Regions from separate parts of the Homo sapiens genome. Here region 2 is linked to region 1. Evidence: promoter capture Hi-C in 16 types of primary human blood cells and fetal thymus (Javierre and others, 2016). All regions are on one chromosome and are shown on one strand. The core of a region is centred on a gene start or on the middle of the fragment in contact, and the rest is flanking DNA. Distances in the headings are between cores, read along the strand shown.

The links. Contacts are between HindIII fragments. The CHiCAGO score rates a contact against its expected background, and 5 or more counts as called.
Region 2: the fragment with the promoter of KLHL25 here is called in contact with the fragment with the promoter of PDE8A in region 1 in 1 of 17 cell types (fetal thymus); the score reaches 8.8 in fetal thymus.

The regions. Positions count from the first base shown.
Region 1 is chr15:84,980,606-84,986,224 of GRCh38, forward strand. It overlaps PDE8A (phosphodiesterase 8A), which reads left to right and starts at 1,251. Exons shown (of 22, transcript NM_002605.3): 1 at 1,251-1,743. The coding sequence starts at 1,558. RefSeq lists silencers at 313-362, 683-1,172 and an enhancer at 900-1,432. The HindIII fragment of the contact is 13,609 bases long and covers 1-5,619 here.
Region 2 is chr15:85,791,493-85,797,111 of GRCh38, forward strand. KLHL25 (kelch like family member 25) reads right to left here and starts at 3,433. Exons shown (of 3, transcript NM_022480.4): 1 at 3,274-3,433. RefSeq lists silencers at 3,104-3,403, 3,554-3,623. The HindIII fragment of the contact is 2,328 bases long and covers 2,529-4,856 here.

The sequences.
Region 1 (5,619 bases), core at 1-2,500:
CAGCCCGCTACAGGATACGTGATGGACGCCCAGAGACACCGCCCTCCAGCTGGTGGGGGAGGAGCCCCAGCCACCAAGAAGTTAAGTGACTGGCCCAGTTCACACAGCAAGCTAGTGGCTGTGTGCGTGTCCGGGGTCCTCATGGGCCCCAGGCCTGCAATGCGTACGCCCCTTCCCCTGGCTCTGCCTTTGGGGTCTCGGACGCCCGACTAGCACTTTGGTTAAAATGAGAGGAGGACGGGCGCCTGCAGCCTGCCCGGTGCTGTAGCTTTGCGGCCGCCCCGGCGCCTGTGTAATCCGAGGCGTGGCGCGCCAGGTTTTGGCCTGCGAGGGAGCGCACGTGGGCTGCGGCTTCTCGCGGACGCCCAGGCCCCACCCACCCGGGACCCGGCGCGCGGCGCCCCAGTTTGACTTTCACTACCCCCAAAGGAGGTCTTTCCACCGGCCTCTTTTCTGGGTAACAGCTCCAGGGCTCACACTTGGTGACCCCACCGAGGTCAAGTAGCCGCTAAGTTACGGAGCCGGAATTCGAATTTGGCGGTCGGGCTTCTGGTGGCCTCGGGACGGAGGTGGCTGTGTGTCCCTGGGCAAGTCTCTTTCCTTCTCTGGGTAGCCCAGTCGGGCGCCCCGCCTGTCGTCGCCGCGCATGCTCAGTTGCGGGCGGCGTCCGGAGGAGGTGGCGGGCGCCCCAGCTGCTTTGCATTGACGCCAGCACCCGCTGGAGGTCACCGCTGGGGGCTCGGCGCGGCACGCTGCCGGCAAAACCCGGCCCGGATCACGGAGCCGGAGCCGGAGCCGTACCGCCAGCAACTCCTGGGTGCGCGCAGCCGTTTCTGCGCTTCTCGACGGTGCGGCCCCAGGCCCCGCTGGAGCCGAGCTGCTCCCCTCCCTACCCTGGCGGACGTGGCCCGGCCGCTCCGAGGGGTTTCCCTCGGACCCCGCGCCTAAACCCCGGCCAGCGGGAGCGTCTAAGGCTAGCCTTGTACCCCACCGGCACTCGGCCTGGGGGGGCTTTTCCGCGAGGCGGCGGCCCAGCGGGCGGAGCGGCGTGGGTGTCCACATCTAGGCGGAGTCTGGAGCCGGGGAGGCGGCGGCGGCGGCGGCGGGAGCGGGGCCGGGCGCGGCCGGGAGCTCGCCTCCCCCGGGGGTCGTGCCGCAGCTCGGCGAGGGCAGCGTGGCTCGCGCGGCGTGGACTCAGCCGCTCCTGGGTAAGGAGAGCGCAAATCTCCTCCCCCTATTTCCCCGGAAGCGCGGCCGAGGCGAGCCCGGCGATGTGAGAGGCGGCCGTCGGCTCCTGCCTCAGGAAGGGCATGTTCGGAGGGGCGGCCTCGGCACGCCACCCGCCTAAGCGCCCCCTTCCCACCGCAGCCGCCGCCGCCGCAGCGCCCGCACCGCGATAAAAGGGGCGGCCGCGTTTCCTGACGCGAGATCCGCGCTCGCCGCCGCCCGCCCAGGCGGCGATGACACGGCGCCCGCGGCGGCCCGGAGGCGCCGGGTGGGCCGTTTGCTGACCGGATCGCGGCTACCCGCCAGCGTGTCCGCGGCGCCGCCGCCAGCATGGGCTGTGCCCCGAGCATCCACATTTCCGAGCGCCTGGTGGCCGAGGACGCGCCTAGCCCCGCGGCACCGCCGCTGTCGTCCGGCGGGCCGCGCCTCCCGCAGGGCCAGAAGACGGCCGCCTTGCCCCGGACCCGCGGCGCCGGCCTCTTGGAGTCGGAGCTTCGCGACGGCAGCGGCAAGAAGGTAAGGGGCGCCGGGCACTCTGGGGCCGCCGCGAAACTCGGGCCCGGCCAGTAAGCAACTTTCCCGCAGGGGCCGGGCGGGGTCCCCCCCACCCGGCCTCGGTGCCCTCTTGTCCCGCTTTGGATGGTTCTGATTGACGCCAGTCTCCCGCCTTGCCGGGGCAGCGTTCAGAGAAGGACCGACCCAGGTCCCGCGACCCTGATTTCCTAGGGTTGCGATTAGGACGCCGCCTGTGTCGCGGCGTCGGTTTTTTGGACACATCCGACTCCCGGAGCGGCGGGGCCCGATGTGAAGTTGACTGAGGCGCTTGCATCAATTTCCTCTCCAAGAGCGGGTGTTTGAGGGAAACCCCCAGGATATTCTGGCGCGCCCCTGCAATGTTAAATCAGTGTGAACTTTGTTCTTTTCCTGTGGTAGAAAGGGAAGGGCGACTGGCCTCACCACTCTTTTCCCTCTGTCAGCTTTGCACATGCAGTTGCAGGTTACCATTTTCTTCGGGACTGCTAGAATGTAATCTGGAACATCAGCTTTGCTTCATTGCACATGTATTTGAGGTCCACGTTTATTAGCATACATACTGTATTTAAAGCATATGTAATTAGAAAATACTGTGAAACGCGATTTTTGAAGCATTCAGCAGAACAAAGTTAATCTTTTATTAAGCCGACTTACTGGGACATTTTGTGACTGGGGTTTTTTGTTTTTTTACATTGCGTGTCTTCTCCAGCGCATGTTGCCTTGGCTTATGTTTTGTCAAAGTTTCTGGGCTTAGTCTTTGTTGAGGTTTTCTAAAGGAAAGTTAAAAAGGAAAAAGAAAAACGTGATCATTAAGGCACACAGCAGCAGCTTTCCAGTTCTCTCATTTCAGAATTTAAAGCTGGAACTCATGCGTTGGTTTATGTTTTGTTAAACCAGTAAAAGACAACAACAACAAAATTCGTGCATGGCTGCAGATTGTTGGCTGTCATCCCTCTCATCACGACCAGTTTTTGAAAGAGTAATTTGCAAAATTTGTTTGATTTTTCCTTGCTTGCTGAGAACTGCTGAACCTCCGAAGTTTGAGGGATATAGTTTGATGTACTTTCTGTCTTACATTTCTAGCAGTCGTCATGATACTTTTTCTGTACGAAAGGGGAAAGTCTTTTTCAGTGTTGCATAACAGTTGATTTCCCCACCATTCCCATACCCTAAGTGAAAATTCAACTTTGTTCTGATTATCAGAAATTGAATTCCTTCTCCTATAGATTCTTTAAAGAAACCTCTGATGGTTTAGGCTTACTAACTCAAGGTGCTCTTAATATCAGTGTTAAGCTGTGTGTTAAGCCTACTTGGCTTTAAAAAAGTGTTACACAGGTGCATATGGAAACTTTAACAGCTTTCAAGTTTTCAGTCCAAATCTAACATTTTGCAGACTAATGTGATAATTTCAGATTACCAAAGTAGCCCTTTTATAGTGAGGGGCCTTTGTGTCTTACAGGCTTTTTTTGTGGTGGATTGGGTGTCCTAAAATTCACCTAGGTGTCTTGTAAGCCTCCCCAGTGCAGCAGCAGCTTGCTCTTGTGCTATCGCAGTGCCGTTAGGTCCCTGAGTTTTTAAGTACTTACTTCAACCATTCTTCTGTATTGGCAGACCATTGTCTTGTGTTGGGGGCTCAGAAAATACTTTCATCCTTAAAGTGCCTAACCCAGTGGCATACACATAGTAGGTACTAAATAAATGTTTACTGATTTCTTAAAAAATTGTTAACTGATTGATGAAACTTTTTCAGTCATTGGAATTTGATTTCATAAAGCCTCCTATGTAGACTTCAAAATAATAGTATTTCCAGAGCAGGAGTCAAATTATAAATTATAACACCACAACCACAGAAATAATAGCCCCATACTTGTTATTCATGAACTGTACATGTTGATATCTCATTTACAGTTATTTGCATTTAGGCATGTCAGATAGTAGAGCAGAGGTAAATGTCAGCATTTTTTCTAGTCTAATATTTTTTCTTTGAAAATGAATCTTTTTAAATTTTAAGATATTAACTATGCTCTGGAAATTCATGTTAGAGAAGGCAAACTGCTAGCAATTTAGCAAAATTAAATCATAAAATTAGTTTCTTTGTATTATCTCAAGATGCAATTTAATTCATTACAAAATTTCTTATTAAAACTGTAAGTCAGCATATCTTTAAGTGAATTTCAACAAGAAATTCATTGGGGGATGCTTTTATAGTCCTACAGCATTTAGTAAATACCAGTTTATCAGTGTGGGTGGGAGATTGATAACTAATTGCATTTTTAGGTTAAGCAGTATGTACTTTGCGTTAAAGTGTATCCTGCATGTGTTCTATGGAACAATATGTGGACTGTTAGTATTGTATGAGAAAAGAGTTCCGTGGTCTGGTAAGTTTTTGGGAAATACAGGTTGAATATCCCTAATCAGAAAATGAGAAATGTTCCAAAGTCTGTTTTGAGTGCTGACATGATGCTCAAAGGAAGTGCTCAATGGAGCATTTCAGAGTTTGGATTTTCAGATTAGGGATGCTGAACTGGTAAATATAATGCAGATATTCCAAAAGCCAAAAAAAAAAAATCCAAAACACTTCTGGTCTCAAGCATTTGGGATAAGAGATATGCGGCCTATACTGGCTCAGACTAAGTTCAACAGAGTTCTTTTATGTAGGGCTTGTCAGAGAACCTAATTTCTGAAAGTAATCTGTGAGTCTCCAAGTGGTTTTTAGAGTGTGCATCATTTCCTAAACTAGTTGATTGTGGAGCCCTTTTCTTGAGGTGTATGTCAGGCAGGCCACATGTTAAGACCTGATTCTTTATGTGAGATACCAATATTCAAAGTACAAGAAATATAATTAACAGTAAAACTCAACGAATGTAATTTGCTTCTTAATGATTCCAAAGGTACTTTAGATCTTGCAATATATTAGGCTGGGTTGTCTGTATGAACTTATTTAAGTATTACTAAAAATACCCTCTGTCTGTTTATTCCTTTCGGGAGTTTAAGTTTATGTGGTTACAGATAATGAATGCTGTGTTCAGTTTGAACACTTAGAGTTTTGTTTATTTTTAATCAGTGTGAGTGAGCCTTAACTGTAACATTTTAATATTTTCTTGCCAGTCTTTGGATTTACCCCATTTCCACTTTCCCTAGCCAGGACTTGAGTTGCCCTTGAAAGATTTGCATGTAGTGTTAGAGACCCTATGCTCACCCCCTATCTTCCTTTTTGCAAACACCCACTGCACTGCTAATGATTGATGCTCCCCACACCCCAACTAATCAACTCTGTGAGATGGCAGTCATGTTTGTTTTGTTCACTGCTGTATCCCCCAGGCCTGATGCACAGTAGGCCTTCCGTAAACGTATGTTGAATTAGAGAATTTTGTGAACCAGGCTGTCAAGTTGAAAATCCACCCAGGCCAGGTAAGTAGAAATAGAAGCCAGTTTTAACCAGAGTAGAGGCTGTAAAGTTTGGATTTGGTTTTGTGGAAATCTCTGGTTATTGCTCTTCAGAGCACTGTACCCAGGGAATAATATATTTCTACCCTGTTGAGCAGAGTAGATTTCCCTGTAAAGAAAGATTAAAGAGGCTGGGCGCGGTGGCTCATGTCTATAGTCCCAGCACTTTGGGAGGCCAAGGCAGAAGGATTGCTAGAGCCCAGGAGTTTGAGACCAGCCTGGACAACATCTCAAGACTCTGTCTCTACCAAAAAATAAAAAAAATTAGCTGGGCATGGCACCGCACACCTTTAGTCCCAGATACTTGGGAGGCTGAGGTGGGAGGATCACCTGAGGTAAGAAGTTCAAGGTTGCTGTGAGCCGAGAGTGCGTCCCTGCACTCCAGCCTGGGCAACAGACAGAAACCCTATC
Region 2 (5,619 bases), core at 2,183-4,682, 810 kb after region 1:
TCAAAAGAAAAAAAGGTTAATAAGCCACACACATCTATCGTTTATCATCCAACAGGGTGCTGGGACAGGGCTTGGAAGGAAAGCAGGAAAGGTTTAGCAGTAAGAAAGAGTGGCAAGAGAGGTAGGGGGCGGGGGTGAGGTGACTGGGGACTCAGGGGAGGGCTGCAAGTCAGCTGCAGAGCAACAAGCACCCAACCTCAATTCTGCACCCAGGGAACAAAAACAAAAAAGGGAAAGGGGAGCCCGGCATGACTGACACCCACTTGGTGCCAGACCCCATTCTAGGGGATTCTGCATAGTATGGTGGTTAACCTTCACCATACCCCTGAAAAAAGCTAACAAAGCTCAATGAGGTTAAGGAACTTGATCACAGACCCACAGCATTTGAACCCCAGTCTGGTGCCAAAGCCCATGCTCTTTCCACTGCTCCTGGGTTAAAAGGACTTAACAGGGAGCCCTTCCTATCCCCAAACCCCTTCGCTTCCCCACCTAATCCCACAGCACCCCTTCCCCAGTTTCTAACAGCCCCAGAAGGACCTGGAGGCAGTATGGGATGATTATGCCTTGAAGATGACAGGTGTCAGCTTTTGACAGCTTTAGGTTGGTATGGCAATGAGGTGGTCAAGGAAAGGGGTTGGAACCTACTGTAGGGGCTGGGCTGACTTCCATCAGCTGGGGATAGCTGCTGATTGATAAGTCCTGTTGGGATGCTGTGACTGAAAGCTGTGGATGCTTAAGTTCTCCCTCCTCCCTCCTCCCCTGCACCTCCCTCCTCTACCCCCAGCTTGTTCCAACTAAGTGTTTCCTGGTGAGGAAAATGCTTCAACAGCCTTGGCTGGCTGAGGCAATTAAATTATGAAATTTACCACATTAGATGAAAACCAGCATCTCAATCAACCAATTCATTTGTGTCTGGCCACTCTGTTTTCTTGTGCCAGCTCTGCCCACACTGGCCAGGCTATGCCTACACTGCCTGGTGGTACAGAGGGACTAGGGGCTCAGACAATGGGCTGGTCTTTGGGACCAGGGGGTAGGTTCTCCCAGGACCCCCAGAGAAGAGAGGCTGCATCCAGAAGCCATCCAGCTTCCTACAAATGCGCTGGACTGCTGACTGTGCGGCCAGACACTACGGACGAGAGCAAACCTTCTACCACCTCCCACTTGCATTCTCCATGGCCTCAACCTGTGCCTATCTTGAGGCTGGCAATGAATTGGGCCTCTGGGAGAAGTGTGGGTGAGCGACAGGACAAAGGTGGCTGCCCTACACCTCGAATCTGGGCGATGACATGCCTTTCTCATCTTAGTCAAGGCATCCTCTCCCCAGGAAGCCTTGCCCACCTGTGTCTCCTTCTCTCCTCTTGCTGCCTCTATCACTACGATGTGTCAGGGCCCCTAATCCATGTGCCAGCACTCCCTCATCTAGGTGCTCACTAAAGGAAGAGTCTCCAGCACCTAACTCAGGGCCTGGCACACAGCAGGTGCCCAATCAAGTCTGTTCAAACAATGAATCAATCAATCAATCAGTCACAAACCACCCACTAAATAACACTCTCACTCATCCTACCCTTCCCCCCGCCCCCGCCCAAGTGATAGACGGGACGAACCAAGCTTGCTTTCACTGGGTAATTGTTCTCTTTTCTTCCTGCTCTCTTCTGCCCACACGGGGTGCCCGCAGATTTAAAACGCTATTAAGGGGCATCGGGCTGCAGAACCTGCTTCCGATGTGGAGCATGCAATTTGCCTATAGCTCTTCTCTCCGCACCACATACATAAATCCAACTGCAGCCCAAGACCCCAGGATGAAGGTGTCTTCCATTTCTACCTCCCTTTTATCAACCACCCTGGAGTCACTGCCTGACAAATGACTCAAAACTGAAATAGCTGCCAGGCCGGAAAAAGACTGACTACGTCAACCTTCACAGGCACAGCTTGTGGACCCAAGAGCCTCCGGTCTTGGGACACCAAATGGACCCTGAGGTGGGGTAGACTTTGTGTCCTACTCTTCCCCAGACCCCCACGCAAGCCTTCACCAACATGCCAGGAATCCTCACAGCTCAGATCAGCACACTGAGCATCAGTTCCTCCTATGAATGGGGAGACTGGGACCCAGGGTCCCAGAGGGCTTGGCCCCATAACGGTCACTGGAATCTGGTCCAGGATACAGACCGTGGAATCCTGCCTCCTCTCCTGGTGCTACTGCTAACTTCCTTCCCTTCCTCTCTCTATTGGGCCGATAGAGTGGAACCAAATGGTCCAGACACCTGGCATTCTCTGCCCTGACTACCGAGGAGAGTCAAAGTCCAGCCCGCCTTCCCCAAGGTCAAATTCACCGGGATCCAGCAGGACCCAAGAGCGTCCAGATTAAATCTGCAGGGGCCTGGGTCCGCCCCCTCACCCACAGTTCGTTGGGTCAGGCCTCTAGAGAGATGTTTCTTTGTTCAAAGACAATGGGAATGCACTTTGGGGGCTTAGAGCAGCAACACAAAAAAAGTATCTGGTATCTCCCGGGCACAATCCCCCAAGAGAAAAGCTTCTAAAGCAACTACGAAAGAGACAGGGGGAGTGGGGGCGTAACATCGCGCGGTGTGTCTCGGAGCCAGGGCAAGTGTGGTAATTAGAGTCAGGCTAGAGGGCTTGCTCTGGACCTGCCAGTCTGGCCGCCACCCAGGTGGACAGGTGGGTGTGCCTTTGAGTGCGACCTTTCTCTGCCGCTGGACAGTTCTGCAAACCGAAACGAGGGACCCTGGCAGGCGGAACGTGAACGGCTCGGGGCTCCGCGGCCAGGCCCGCGCAAACCCTCCCCTTGTGAACCCCGGGCCCTCGCTCTGCGCCAGGCAGGCAGCCATCCGGCCTGGGCGTCCAAGGCGCGGGGCATCGCCGCTCGCGTCCTCAAAGACAAGCAGTCTCTCTTTCCAGGATCAATAGTAATTTTTTAAAAAAAAGAGTCTGCGGACTCAATGAATCAACCACTCCCTGGGGAAAGAGTAGCGGCTCCCGCGCGCAACATCCATTTGCCAAACAATTCATTCCCTCGCGCAGAGCTCTCGGCGAATTCCCTCGCGGAGCCGCGGGGTGCCGGCCGGCCGCCGCTCCCCACCATTGTCCCAGGGCCCCGGCCCCAGCCGCGGGGCCCCCTCCCGGGACACGTAGTCCCGCGGGGGCTCCGAGCGCTTGGTCCCGGCCCGGCCCGGGGTGGTGAGTCCCCAGCGCAGGGAGCGGGGGCGCGGGTGCTGCGGCCAGAGCACGGCGTCCCCGCCCGGCCTGGATACTCACTGCCGGAGACGATCCCCGCCGCCGCCGCCGCCTCAGAGACCACTCCCGGCAGCCCGCGCGAGCTCAACAGGCTCCGCCGCGGCTCCCGTCGGCCGGCTCTCCACAGGCAAAAACGCTCTCGCTGCGATACAGCCTAGGCGCCGCCAACAAACTAGTTTCTCCGGCCTTCCCGCCCCGCCTCCCGGCCCGAAGAGCAGCAGCCAATCAGAGGCATCGCCTCTGTGACGGATGGGCAGCCGAACCCTTCAGTGCAGCCGCAGAAAAGAAGGGGGTGGGCCCCAGGCCGCGCCGGCACCGGGGGGTGGGGGGCCGGGGGCGGGGAGGGGGGGGGACCGGGGGCGGGGCGGGGCGAGGAAAAGGACTTCGACCAGATTCTTAAAGAGACAGGCGCCTGCCCAACCCCGCCGCCCAAGTTTGGGAACAAAACGCGACGGTGTTCTAGAGCTTTCCAGAGGGAGCACTGTAGATTGCATATGCCTCTTTTGTGTTCGGGTCACAAGTGTTGTAGATCTCTTTAGACTCTTCAGAGCCACACTAGTAGTTGCCCGAGTGTTAATGAAACCCTGTCTTTCACTCTGGGCTTGTTTGAATGTTTGGGACTTTCTGCAGCCTCCAAACCCCACCTGTACTTGAAATCTGTATTTTTTGGAGTATTTCAGCTCTCCTCTCTGTGTCATTTCTCACTAAACTCCTTTCGTAAGCCAGCCTTTAAATGTTCGTTCATTCATTCATTCATCCATCCATCCAATAATTTCTTCCAGGAACGTTTCCTGGACGCCCACACCATGCACTCATCTTGGAGGGGGAGAACGGTTTGTGATTCTTCGTCCTTTTCCCTCCTGACTACTACTTCAGCTTACTGTGTGTGTCCAATCTCATCCGTAAAGCGGCAGATAAAAACTCCTCATCGGATTATTTGGGGGATTAAAGGAGACAAATTCCCAGACAAATGAGTGCGCAATAAATGTCCTCTCTTTTCTCCCTCCCAATGAAAATCGATAATTCAAGTAGGTTGCTTAAGGATACAAAAGGTAAAGCATAGAAAGTGATAAGAACGAAAGAGCCAAGCCTGGGGCGGGGAAATTCCCAGGAAGCAGAGGTCACCCTGACGGAGGTGGAGGTGGGAGGTGCAAGGAAGGTCTAAGAAAGTGTACAAAGATTTGGGAGAGGGGATAGGATTGTGACTAGTGGAACCTGGGAAATAGAGCCCCTGGGTAGAAAGCTGCTTAGACAGGACAGATATGCCAGGGTTAAAAGACTGGGAGATGATGAGAAGATACCACCAGGGAAGGCATTTTTGGGAAACAGCTTGATGTTCTGGGTTTGAAGCCCCGCCCTGCCCCTCAAGAGCTGGGTAGGACTGAAGCAGATGGCTCAGACTCTCTGGTGTCTGGTTCTTACTGGTGAAGAGGATTCTAAAACCTTTCTTGCAGGGGTATGGGAAAGATTAAGATAACATATGGAATAGGCCTGGCATGTAGTAAGTGCTCAGTACAGATTTGTGCTTCCATTTGGCCCAGATCTGCAGACATCTAAGGCACCAGGGTTCTGATATTTATGAACAATATTGGCCAGAGGTAAGAAGCTTGCCAAGTGCACTGTTAAGGTGCCTTCTGAAGAGAAAAGGTAGTGAGAGGTGAAGCCAGCTGGACTTTCTGGGTCCAGTGGGGACTTGGAGAACTTTTCTGTCTTACAAGAGGATTGTAAAATGCACCAATCAGCGCTCTGTATCTAGCTAGAGGTTTGTAAAATGTACCAATTAGTGCTCTGTAGAAATGCACCAATCAGCACTCTGTGGCTAGCTAGAGGTTTGTAAAACGGACCAATCAGCACTCTGTAAAATGGACCAATCAGCAGCACATGGGCCTGGACAAATAAGCTAATAAAAGCTGGCCGCCCCCCAGCCAGGAGCAGCAACCCACTTGGGTCCCCTTTGGCGCTGTGGGGGCTTTGTTCTTTCGCTCTCCACGGTAAATTTTTCTGCTGCTCACTCTTTGGGTTCACGCCACCTCTAAGAGCTGTAACACTCACCGTGAAGGTCCGCAGCTTCATTCCTGAAGTCAGCGAGACCACCAACCCACCGGAAGGAACCAGCTCCAACACATTAGCATCAAAGTAATTACTTCATTAAGGAAATGACAGAGATCACATTTGTAGTTTTATCCTGCCGATTTTCTAGCACTAGAGTGTTTATAGAATTGTTGGTTGAATGAAGCTCCACATGCAAAATTGATTCTTGGCAAGTTTATAACTGTTGCTTATTATTTTATGCAGGTTCGCTGTAAAATTATAAGTGCCAACCGCCCAGTAAAATCTGGTCCACATTATAATTTTTTCTCTCTTCAA